Linked DNA regions of Homo sapiens: region 1 is linked to region 2. Evidence: promoter capture Hi-C in 16 types of primary human blood cells and fetal thymus (Javierre and others, 2016). All regions are on one chromosome and are shown on one strand. The core of a region is centred on a gene start or on the middle of the fragment in contact, and the rest is flanking DNA. Distances in the headings are between cores, read along the strand shown.

Region 1 (5,851 bases), core at 2,204-4,703, 210 kb after region 2:
TGCTCATATTTACATGAGTCTATTTCTGGGCTCTCTTTTATTCCATTGATCAATTTGCCCATATATCAGTAACACACTGTCTTAACTACTAAAGCTTTTAAAAGTCTTGATATTTGGTAAAATAAGTCTTTTTATACCTTGTTCTTCAAGATTTTGGCTGTGATCAGTTCTTTGCACTTTTATACAAATTTTAGAATTTCAACAAAACAAAATTGTTAGGATTTTGATTGGGATTGTATTGTATCTGTGAACAAATTCTTTATAGTAGTGCATTTTTTGGTGAGTTAATGTTGTCTTTCCATTGTATCTTTGAATAAAGTCTTAAAATTTTCTTCATAGAAATACTGCATACATATATTTTGTTAATCTTATATCTTTTTGTTTTTGATGCTATCATAAATGATATCTTTTAAGTTTTTAATTTTTTGTTCGTATGTGGGGATACTTTTTAAATTGATTTTTCTATTCAACCTTGCAAAAATCTTTTTTAAAGTTTAGTAATTTATCTGTAGATTCTTTTGGACTTTCTATAAGTAATGACAAATTTGTCTTTCTATTGTCCTTTTCTTTTTCTTGCCTAATTAAATTTGCAGGGACCTCCAGTATAATGTTGAATAGGTCATGTGTAGGCATTCTTGTTTTGTTCCTGTTCTCTGGGAATGCTTTCAAAGTATTCTCTAAGCATTTTATGATACTTTTATTAAATTTAGAAATTTCCCACCTATTCTTATTTGCTAAGAGTTTTTTATAATCATAAATGATATAAAATTTTGAATTTTCAAAAAGCTCTATTGAGAAAAATCATGATTTTTCTGCCTTTATTCTCTGAATGTAGTCAGTTACATGAACTGGATTCCTATTATTAAGCCAACCTTCTCTTCCTAGGGTAAAAAAAACCTGGCCACGATGTGGTTTGACTGCTTTTAATAGCTGGATTTGTTTTAAGATTTTTGCTTAATATCAAGGCTGTTTTAGCCTTATAAAGTGATTTGGAAACTGGCTTTCTTTTCTTGTTTTCTGGGAGAGCTTGTATATAACATTTACATTACTTCTTCCTTGAATGTTTATTAGAAATCATAGGTGAAGTGTGTTTGGGGCCTGGTGTCTTCTTTATGGGATGCTGATTCAATTTCTTTTTATTAATAAGGTTCAGCTTTTCTGTTGTGTAATATTGGTAGATTGCATATTCCTATGTATCTTTCCATTACGTCTACACTTTCAAATTTGTTAGCACTGTGTTTTTCCTGTACACTTAACATGTGCCAGATCTGTAAGGATGGTACCCTTTGTATTGCTTATATTGCATCTGAGATTGTTTGTATCTTTTTTCCTTGACTAGTCTTGCTAGAGGTTTATCATATTTATTGTTTTTGCTTTACAAAGAAGCCAATATTTTTGTTTTTCTTCTTTGTTATATTTTCTCTATTTTGTTGATTTCAGCTTTTTCTTTTCTATGTTAATATGTCATATTATTGTAGTGGATGGTTAGCTCTTCAAATTTTCAACTTTCTATTCTGATTTACATATTTAAAGCTATAGATTTCCATGATAATGCTACTTTATCTCTTGCGTTAGTTTTCTATGCTGGGTAACAAATTACCACAGGTTTACTGGTTTATAACAGCATAATTTTATTATCTCACAATTTCTTGGGGTTAAGAGTTTCAGCATGGCTTAACTGGGTCCTCTGTTTAGGGTCTCACAAGGCTGCAGTGAAGTCAGCTGAACTGCATTGTCATCTGGAGCTCACAGTTCTCTTCTAAATTAATCAGATTGTTGATAAAACTTAGTTCCTTGAAGCTGTAGAACTGAGGTCCTCAGCTACTTAGGGCTGCTCTTTTATATAAGCAGTGTAACGTGACATGCCTTTTTAAGGTCAGCAGAACTTCTGACTAGAATCTGTTTCAGAGAAGGCCAGAAAGAGTTCACTTGGTTAGGTCAGAGTCACCTGGGATAGTCTCCCTTTTGATTAAGTCAGAGTCAACTAAATAGGCACCTTAATTGCATCTGCAAAATCCTTTCACTTTTGCCATATTCTCTTACTAAATGTAACAGGCGTTGTCCACACAAAGGTATGGATATGGGGCTTGGAAAGGATTTCAGGAACCATCTTAGAATTCTGCCTACTACTAACTCCATTCTACAAGTCTCAATATCTAGCATTTTAGTTATTCACTAACTGCAAAGTTTTTTATTTCATTATCATTACTACTTTGATCCATAGATACTATTTGGAACTATAATTTCCAAACATGAATATTTAAGTTTTCCTTTATTGTTGATTTTTAACATAATTGAATTGTGATCAGATGATATATTCTCTATATGATTTAAATTCTTTGAAATGTGTTAACAGTTGCTTTATGACATAATAAGTGGCTGGTTTTTATAAATTTTAGGATGCTTGAAAAGAGTTCTACAGTTATTTATGTTCATTAATCATTTTAGTCATGTTCATTAATTTTCAAGTCTTCAGTATCCTTAGTGATGATTTTTTTGTTTTTGGTATATATCTCTTGATTACTAAGAGAATTGTGTTAAAATGTAGCTAGCATGATTTTAGATGTGTTTGTGTGATTCTTTCAATTTCTCTCTTTTTCTATTTTGTATTGGGATACAAATGTATAATTGTTATATTTTCCAGGTTAATTGAAAGAAGCTTTATCATTACAAAATTATCTTTATTTCCACTAATAAATTTTGCCTTAAAATTAATTTTATTTGATATTAATGTAGCTATACCAGCTTTCGTTTGGCTAGCACTTGTGTCGTATATCATTTTCCACAGTTTTACTTTCAGTCTTTGTGTATATTTAGTTTTTAGAGGTGTCTCGTTTATATCATATTGTTGTTACTATTAGTATGTGTCCTATCTGTTCTATGTTCCTTTTTTTCTACTTTTTTTTTGATAGTTTTGTTTTTGTTACTCCTTTTTTTCTTCTACCTATCAGATGGGATGTTGTATATATTTCTGTTCATGGTTGTTCTAGAAATTTCATTATGCATCTCTGACTTATCAACGCCTAAACTCGCCCAGACTTCTGCGCAGTGCAGTAGCCTTAGAACACTTTAATCCCATTTACTTTCCTCCCAGCTTATATATGTGGTTGTCACATATGTTGTATCTCTTTAAATGTAAGTTATTACTGTTGTTTTATATAGTTAATATTGACTTAGATTTACCCACAAATTTGCCACCTTTCTTACTCTCCATTCCTTGCTGTGTCTTTGAGCTTCCATCTGGAGTAATTTTTCTTTTGCCTGAGTATATGTTTAGAATTTACTTTAGTGCAGGTCACCTGGTGGCACATTTACTTTGCTCTTGTTTTTTGAAATGTCGTTATTTTGCCTTCTTTTTGAAGGACTTTTTTTTTCTCCCTTGAAATGGATGGTTATCTGGAAAGGTAAAGATAACTTTCCCTTGTATTCTGACTTCCACTGTTACTGGGAAGAAGTCACCTGTCAGTCTTTTGCTCCATTTAGACTAATCCATTTTTTTTTCCTCTGGCTGCTTTCACGATTTTCTCTTTGTAATTATAATTTTTTTTTTTTGAGTTTCATTGTGTTGTATATACGTGAGGATTTTATTGTATTTTCCCACTTAGGCTTTGTTTGGCATCTTAGATCTGTGGGTTGATACATCAGTTCTGGAAAATTCTCAACCATCATTGATTTGTTCAAATTTTGTTTAGAATCTTACATCTATATCCATGAGCGATGTTGGTCTTTAGTTTTCTGTTTTTGTAATGTCTTTTGTCTGATTAGTATGATACTAATGCTGGCTTAATAGAATGATTTCAGAAGTATTCCCTCCTTTTGAATTTTTTTGAAGAGTATGTGTAGGATTGGTATCATTTCTTCCTTAAATGTTTTGGTAGAGTTCACCATTGAAGTCACCTGGACATGAAGTTTTCTTTTTCGGAACATTTTTCACTACACCTTAATTTCTTTGATAGATTTAGGGCTTTTAAAATAATCTGTTTCATCTTGACTGTTTGGCTTTTAAGGATTTTTTCCATTTCATATAAATTGTTGAATTTGCTGGCATAAAGTTGTTCATAATCTTTCCTTAGTAACCTTTTAATAACTGGAATGTCATGTCCCTCTCTCATTTCTAATATTGGTAATTTGCATCTGCTCTCTTTTTTCTTGACTTATCTGGCTAGAAGTTTATTGATTTTGAACGTCCTAGTAAACCATCTTTTGGTTTTATTTCTGGGGGAATAAAGTACCATAATCAAGCTTAGTAATCCTTCTTCTTACCTTCCTCCAGGATTTTGACTAGATGGGATTCTTTGTCTAATGAAGTGACCTAAACCTTCATTTCTACAGAATTGAGCCGTTGATAGGCCTGTCTTTACTGGGTTGCTGCAGTTTTCCACTGACTAGGACTGTTAGCACTAAGAGGCATTCCAGTGAATTTCCTCGTTTCCATATATAGCCTATATAGCCTTCTTGTTTCCATTGTAAAACAGAAACACAGTTTTCCTCTGATAACTGGAATTAGCTACCCTGGCCAGTCCATTGAGCTGCTTTTCTGTTACTTTAATGGCATGAGGAACCTCAAAAGGCCAGGGCCAGTCTCGGCTCCTAAATCATCAAAACATGATTATTTTTCCTGAAGGAAGTGTTCTACTCTTGGACTCTAGAATTTCTAAACCCACCAAGCCCAACATTTTGGGAATGGGAAGCAAAAATTATTCACGTAGATTCTTAGGTATACTATTGAACAGAAACACTCCTTCTACCCTTTGGCTCTGAGACCTGTGCATCCTGATAGTGGGGAGACAGCTCCATATATTGACTGCTTATTAAATTAATGTACCACATTCTATAGGACACCACCCTACCTTTTCATGATGTTGCCTCCCAGATATCTCTGTAACCGAGCTCTCATTTTGCCACTCAGCTGTTCTATCAAGCTAGTTACTTTAGGAGATAAGCATGTGTTAAAACCATTGAATTCACTTCCATTGCCATAAACTGTGTACCTGGTTGGAAGAAATGTTTTTGGGATTCCTATGCAATGGATAAAACCTTCAGAAATGTCAAGAATATTAGTGCCAGTGGAAACACTGCAGGCAGAGAATGCAGATTTATACCTTGAATGTGAATTATCTTTGTGAAGACAAAGTGCTACCTATTTCTTATGGAAATTGCCCAATGTAACCATCATGTTACCGGGTTGCCAGCAAGTCTCATTGACAGTAATGCCATATTAGGAACCCAGCCTTGGAAATGTAGTCACACTCCACGTTGTTGCCAGGTTGGGCATTCGGCAATGATAGTAGCCAAATAATGTAGGTAAGGAGAAGACCATACTATTGAACCTCTGTCACTGCTTTGATAGCCACTTGGTACATGGGCCCATTAACCAAGCCCTGGGTTGGCTGGAGAAAAAGACTGACATCTACCAGACAATTCATCTTGTTCCGCTTATTATTGAAAATCTTCTCCACCTGATGCATCCTGTTAGGCACTTATGGGGGATATGAATATCTTCACATGCCCTCACCACTCCAAGAGGGTTATCTGTAAGTCTCACGGACAGATCTTTTACAAATTTTCCATTTTGTTCTTTCCAAGAACCTAAAAGCTGGACAATCCATTAGACACTGCCTGTAAGTCAGTATATTTATCAGTTTGTCATGTCGTCCCCTCCTTTCTTGAATGTGAATAACCAGGTATGTAGCTAGAAATTGCCCACTAGGAAGATTCGCTGTCCCCATTAGCAATGCACGGATCTGAAATTGTCTCACTTCTTTACATATCTGTCTGTCTCCCAGATTAGACTATAAAATCTCCATGAGAACTAGGACTGTGTCTCCTGTTCGCACAATATCCCTAATGT
Region 2 (5,356 bases), core at 2,006-4,505:
CCTAGTAGTTCAAGCCCAGCCTGTGCAACATAACAAGACCACATCTCTACAAAAAAATAAAAAATCAGCCAAGTGTGGTGGTGCACGCCTGTAGTCCCTGCCACTCAGTAGGCGTAGGCAGTAGGCTTGCCTGAGCTCAGGTGTTGAAAGCTGCAGTGAGCCAATGGCTCCACTGCACTCCAGCCTCAGTGACACAGCAAGACCTTTGTCCAAAAAAACAAACAAAAGACCAGTCACAGACTGGGAGGAAATATATACAAATCACACATCTGACTTGTTTCTAGAATATATAATAAACTCTTAAAACTCAACAATAAGAACAGATAATTAAGTTTTTAAAAGGACAAAATACTTGGATATTTCACCAAAAATTATTTACAAATAACTAATCACATAAAAATATGCTCAACATCATTAGTCATTATGAGAGACAGGACAAGCTGGATTTCCTAGGCCGACTAAGAATTCCTAAGCCCTAGCTGGGAAAGGTGACTGCAACTACTTTTAAACACGGGGCTTGTAACTCAGCTCACACCCAACCAATCAGGCAGTAAAGAGGGCTCACTAAAATACAAATTAGGCTAAAGCAGGAGGTAAAGAAATAGTCAAATAATATATCGCCTGAGAGCATGGGGGAGGGACAATGATCCGGATATAAACCCAGGCATTAAAGCAGGGAGTGGCAACCCTCTTTGCGTGCCGTCGCATTGTATGGGAGCTGTGTTTTCACTCTATTAAATCTAGCAACTGCACACTCTTCTGGTCTGTGTTTGTTATGGCTCGAGCTGAGCTTTCGCTCGCTTTTCACCACTGCTGTTTGCCACTGTCACAGACCCGCCACCGACTTCCACCCCTCCAGATCCGGCAGGGTGTCCGCTGCTTTGCTGATCCAGCGAGGCACCCATTGCCACTCCCGATCCGGCTAAAGGCTTGCCATTGTTCCTGCATGGCTAAGTGCCCGGGTTCGTCCTATTTGAGCTGAACACTAGTAGCTGGGTTCCACGGTTCTCTTCTGTGACCCACGGCTTCTAATAGAGCTATAACACTCACCGCATGGTCCAAGGTTCCATTCCTTGGAATCCATGAGGCCAAGAACCCCAGTTCAGAGAACAAAAGGCTTGCTGCCATCCTGGGAGCGGTGGCCACCATCTTGGGAGCTCTAAGAACAAAGACCTGCCCATAAGAATTAGAGATATAGAAAATGAAGAACACAATGCAATATCAGCACACCTCTATTTGGCCAAAATTGGTAAAACTGACAATACCTGGCGAGGATGCGGGGCAACTAGAACTCATACATCACTGTTGAGAATGTGAAATGGCACAGACCCTTTGCAAATTAGTATGTCAATTTCTTGCAAATTTAAACATGCACTGACTAAATGGCCCAGCAATCTCACTCCTAGGTATTTACTCAGGTGAAATGAAAATTTCTATTCACCCGAAAAAACATTTGTTGAATAAATTAATGAATGAATAATAAACGAATGGAGCTATCATAATGTAAAATGACTAGATAATATCTAAAATTGCTGAAACAAAAAAAAATATAAGCCTATTTTTGGAAAAAGGAAGTAACTACCACAAGGAATAGTTAGAAGAGTTAAGAGACTGACTCTTTAAGCACAGGACAGATGGTCAGGAATGGTTAAAAGGGCCTGCTGCTTTTCATTGACCTTCCAGTACTATTGATTTTTTTTAACTACGTGAATATATTACTTTCATAAAAATGTAAAAAGAAAAAGAGGAGTCAGAGAAAGAAAATGAATTGTCAGAAAAATTTAGAAGTTTTATCAACTGAAATGCAGAAAAGATAAATTGTGCTTGCATTTCATTTTTGTTGTTCATTCCAAACATTTATGGATTAGACTAGCTGAAATGAAGTAATTAAGAGACTCAATAGAAAACATTGCCAAGAATAAAAAATAATTTGAGGAAACCATGAAAAGTTTACAGGTTACTCTGTCACAAAATACTTTGTTAATTCACTACCCCGCAGCAACACACATCACCAAGGCTGGCTTCTGGAATGCTTTCTACTTGTAGCCATTTTTGAACAATAGGTGATTCCGCTTTTAACAACACTGTTAGAATATAATGTAGCGAGTTTTACCAGAGATGTTTAAGACTACCTGGCACAAGTAAATTTCATTGTATACATGTATATACACGAGGGAGGGTGATCATAGTCTAGAAAAAAACAGGTCTTCAGAAGTCTAGAACTTTAATAACCTTAAATCCAAATTATTCCCTGCGTCCATCCATAATGAGAAGGAAGAAATCTACACTTGCATTTCTTCCACCTTTCACATCTTTCTCATTTAAATCCTACTGTACTTGATTTGTGTTGTTCCCAACGTACTAGGTGCTATGCATGACGTAGAAACGTGTTTCCTTATATGTATGTACTAGCAGGCTCCTTCAAGCACATGCCTAAGGTTGAAAGATTCAAATATAATTATAGCCTCTTAAATTATTGCGTCAGAGCCCGCCCTATCCCCTCAGAAAAAGCCCCCTTTTACACCATCAAATGAAATATCAGGTTATTTGCACTGGATATTTTTTAAAAGAAAATATTTGATTTTAAAATCAAAGAGTTCTTGGTTTTCCATCATTTCACTAATTGTCTTACTAGAGACCCGAGTCTCCTTTGTCAAAATATATTTCAGTACGCATTTTAAAAAATATGTGTGTGTGTATACTTAAATATATATATATATAAAGTCTTGGACTTATTTTCACCTAGCCTGGGGCATATCGTGGATAGTTTCAATCGACAAAACAGGCACTCTCTGGCCTAGGAGTGGAATCCATCCTCAATTTTCGCAGGCTCCTCACAATTCTCTATTTGGAAGAAGTGTCCCTCTCCTTCCCTTTTCTTTTCCTCCTTTACTCAGCGTCAGTCCCCGCAGCCATCTCCTCCGACCCTTTTTGTCTACGTCCCAGCGTCGCGAACCACAGCGGCGGAGGTGGAGCGGGGAGAGGCGTTAGGCCGGGCGGCTAAAACGCGCCGTTAAAGTGGGGGAGAGATTGCGCGGAGCCCACGCGATCCCTGGGACGCCGGAGACAACGGGGCTCTTGGGAAGGCGCGGAGCCCGGGGAAGCCGGGGATGTGCGCGTGAGCCGTGCCCGCAGGGTCTCCCCGCCTCCGCCACCTTTCTTGGGTGGCTCTCCGCCTCGTCCTCCCTCCGAGGGCCGTTGGTACATTCCTAGTGACTCCAAGCGCTTAAAAGGGGCCCGGGAGGATGAACCCCACAGATCTGAACCTGATTTGTGTGTGCACCGCGTCTCCAGCGATCCCGGATCCACTGCGCTGCCAGGGGCCTGGGGGTGGGTCTCTTGCTGTCTCTGCGACGACATCCTTACGTTTCGGCACTCTAATGCTGGGTTTGTGCGTGTGTGTCTGCTTAGCGGTCTAGCGGGCTGTTAGGCTCCCTCGCCCCCAGCTCCTTGGCTCGCTCAGCTCCTCCACCGCAGCCCAGCAGTGAGACGCGCGCGCAGCCAGCTCCCCACGAGATGGAACAGACCGAAGTGCTGAAGCCACGGACCCTGGCTGATCTGATCCGCATCCTGCACCAGCTCTTTGCCGGCGATGAGGTCAATGTAGAGGAGGTGCAGGCCATCATGGAAGCCTACGAGAGCGACCCCACCGAGTGGGCAATGTACGCCAAGTTCGACCAGTACAGGTGAGCGCGCTGCAGCTTCAATGCCAGGCGGCGCCCACTCGCCCCGTCTGAGGAGGAATGGACGTGGGGGACGCAGCCCAAAGTGACTGGCTCGGGAAGCTCGGGCCGCGCTGCGTCCGCCGCTCGCCCCCTCGCTGGCCAGCCGCGGGGCTGGCACGACTCGCTTGGGGCTCCGCGGCCACAGCGCAGGCGGAAGGTGGATCCTACTGGCCTTGCTGACCTCCGGCCGGGAACGGCGGACAGGCGCCGGGAAGGGAGGCCACCGCGCGTCTGCGAGATTTTCTGTTCTCTTCTCTCCCGCAAACCCCTCTGCTTCTAAACCACCAGTCCTCCTGCCCCTGGCCTCGGGAGCAATGCCCACACTCCCAAGCCATCGTTAACCCCGGGCGCGGAGATGCGGAGAGACCGCACTCAGGTTCGGGCCCTCCTGACACCTTAAGGAACCGTCTGGCCGGACTAGCAGAGGGTGCTCCCAGGGGAGCACTACATCAGCCATCGGGAGAAGTGTGTGATGTTGAAGAAGACAAGTCACCCGCGTCAGTTCTCCATCACTGCGCCTTCGGTCGCCTGCAACCGGGCACCTTATAGCAAGCATTTTTACTCATGTAAAATAGCGTCTTGTGGCCGTCAGCTGCCACTACGGAATTTCTGCTGTTCCCTTTCCCAAACCAATTTAACTAACTTCCCCGACTGTGGGTTTATTCAAATCCACTGCCAAGTTTCGCAGATTAAATATTCGACCGTCGTTTTTTTCAGCCCCCAAATGATCTGATTTATCTTATCCTTGCTTCTGACGATCTGTAATGTAAATTAAAGACCCCTACTTCCCAGATGTACTTGAGTGAGGTGCCCTGGTAAGCTGGCTTTTTTGCAGCCCCGGCTTGGTGATTAAGTCGAATCTCTCTACCAATCCTCCGGGGCCAGAGGTAAAATTTAATCACCCCGAAGTGTGAGAGGTTCTACTTTTTCTGAGCAGTTAGTGCGTCAGTCTTTGTGGTTTTTTGGGTTTAGGGTTAGGAGAAAGGGGTAAGTGAAAGAAAAGAATAAGGAAAGAAGTAAGTTTGTTTTTCTTGGGAGCAGGTTCTTTTAGTCACTCTTCAACATGTGGGATGTTTCGTAAAGTTTTGTTGGCATGGGCGGTTTCAACTGTATTTTAGGATTTGAAATAGAAAAAGTGAAGACCACTAAGGATCCCATTTTTCATATACAAGTGACTTGAGGAAATTCCTTTGGCTCCTATCAGCTTAGTTCATGGTAGAGCCCTTCTGTAGCCGTGAAAGCTAGCAGAGAGTCTAGCTTTTAAATTTTCTTGCATTTGCTCCAGGTAATTGAAGACTTGTTATGGGACAGGTACTCTTCCAGACACTTGACACATATGAGGAATGGCAGGCAATGAAGAAGTTGAATGACTTGCACTAGGTCTTCTATCGATAGCGGCTCCAGGCTCCCGGGGTTAGCATTGTTGTTCCAGAGCCTACACTCTAAACCACTGTTAAACCAGGACAGGTTGTAACAGTTTTTAATCTTTAATCTTTAGAACAAGTGTATTTTCAAGGACCTTGAACTAGTCTCGATTGACAAACTCTAAAGCTTTTGAAGTGCAACCAGCTGGGTTGATCGGTCTTTTCACAGATATCTGAGGTACAGCTCATTAACATAATGGATGTAGT

The links. The method cuts DNA at HindIII sites, captures the fragments that hold promoters and counts their contacts. A CHiCAGO score of 5 or more calls a contact.
Region 1: a fragment that was not itself captured here is called in contact with the fragment with the promoter of CDO1 in region 2 in 4 of 17 cell types (total CD8 T cells, naive CD8 T cells, non-activated CD4 T cells and 1 more); the score reaches 5.8 in total CD8 T cells.

The regions. Positions count from the first base shown.
Region 1 is chr5:115,604,180-115,610,030 of GRCh38, reverse strand. All of the region lies in intron 3 of TMED7-TICAM2 (TMED7-TICAM2 readthrough), which reads left to right. All of the region lies in intron 2 of TICAM2-AS1 (TICAM2 antisense RNA 1), which reads right to left. Among named protein-coding and RNA genes, the nearest start is that of TICAM2, 4.6 kb to the right of the region's middle. The HindIII fragment of the contact is 1,583 bases long and covers 2,662-4,244 here.
Region 2 is chr5:115,814,558-115,819,913 of GRCh38, reverse strand. It overlaps CDO1 (cysteine dioxygenase type 1), which reads left to right and starts at 3,255. Exons shown (of 5, transcript NM_001801.3): 1 at 3,255-3,686. The coding sequence starts at 3,517. LOC124901049 (a long non-coding RNA gene) reads right to left here and starts at 2,826. Exons shown (of 2, transcript XR_007058908.1): 1 at 2,743-2,826. The HindIII fragment of the contact is 6,274 bases long and covers 1-5,278 here.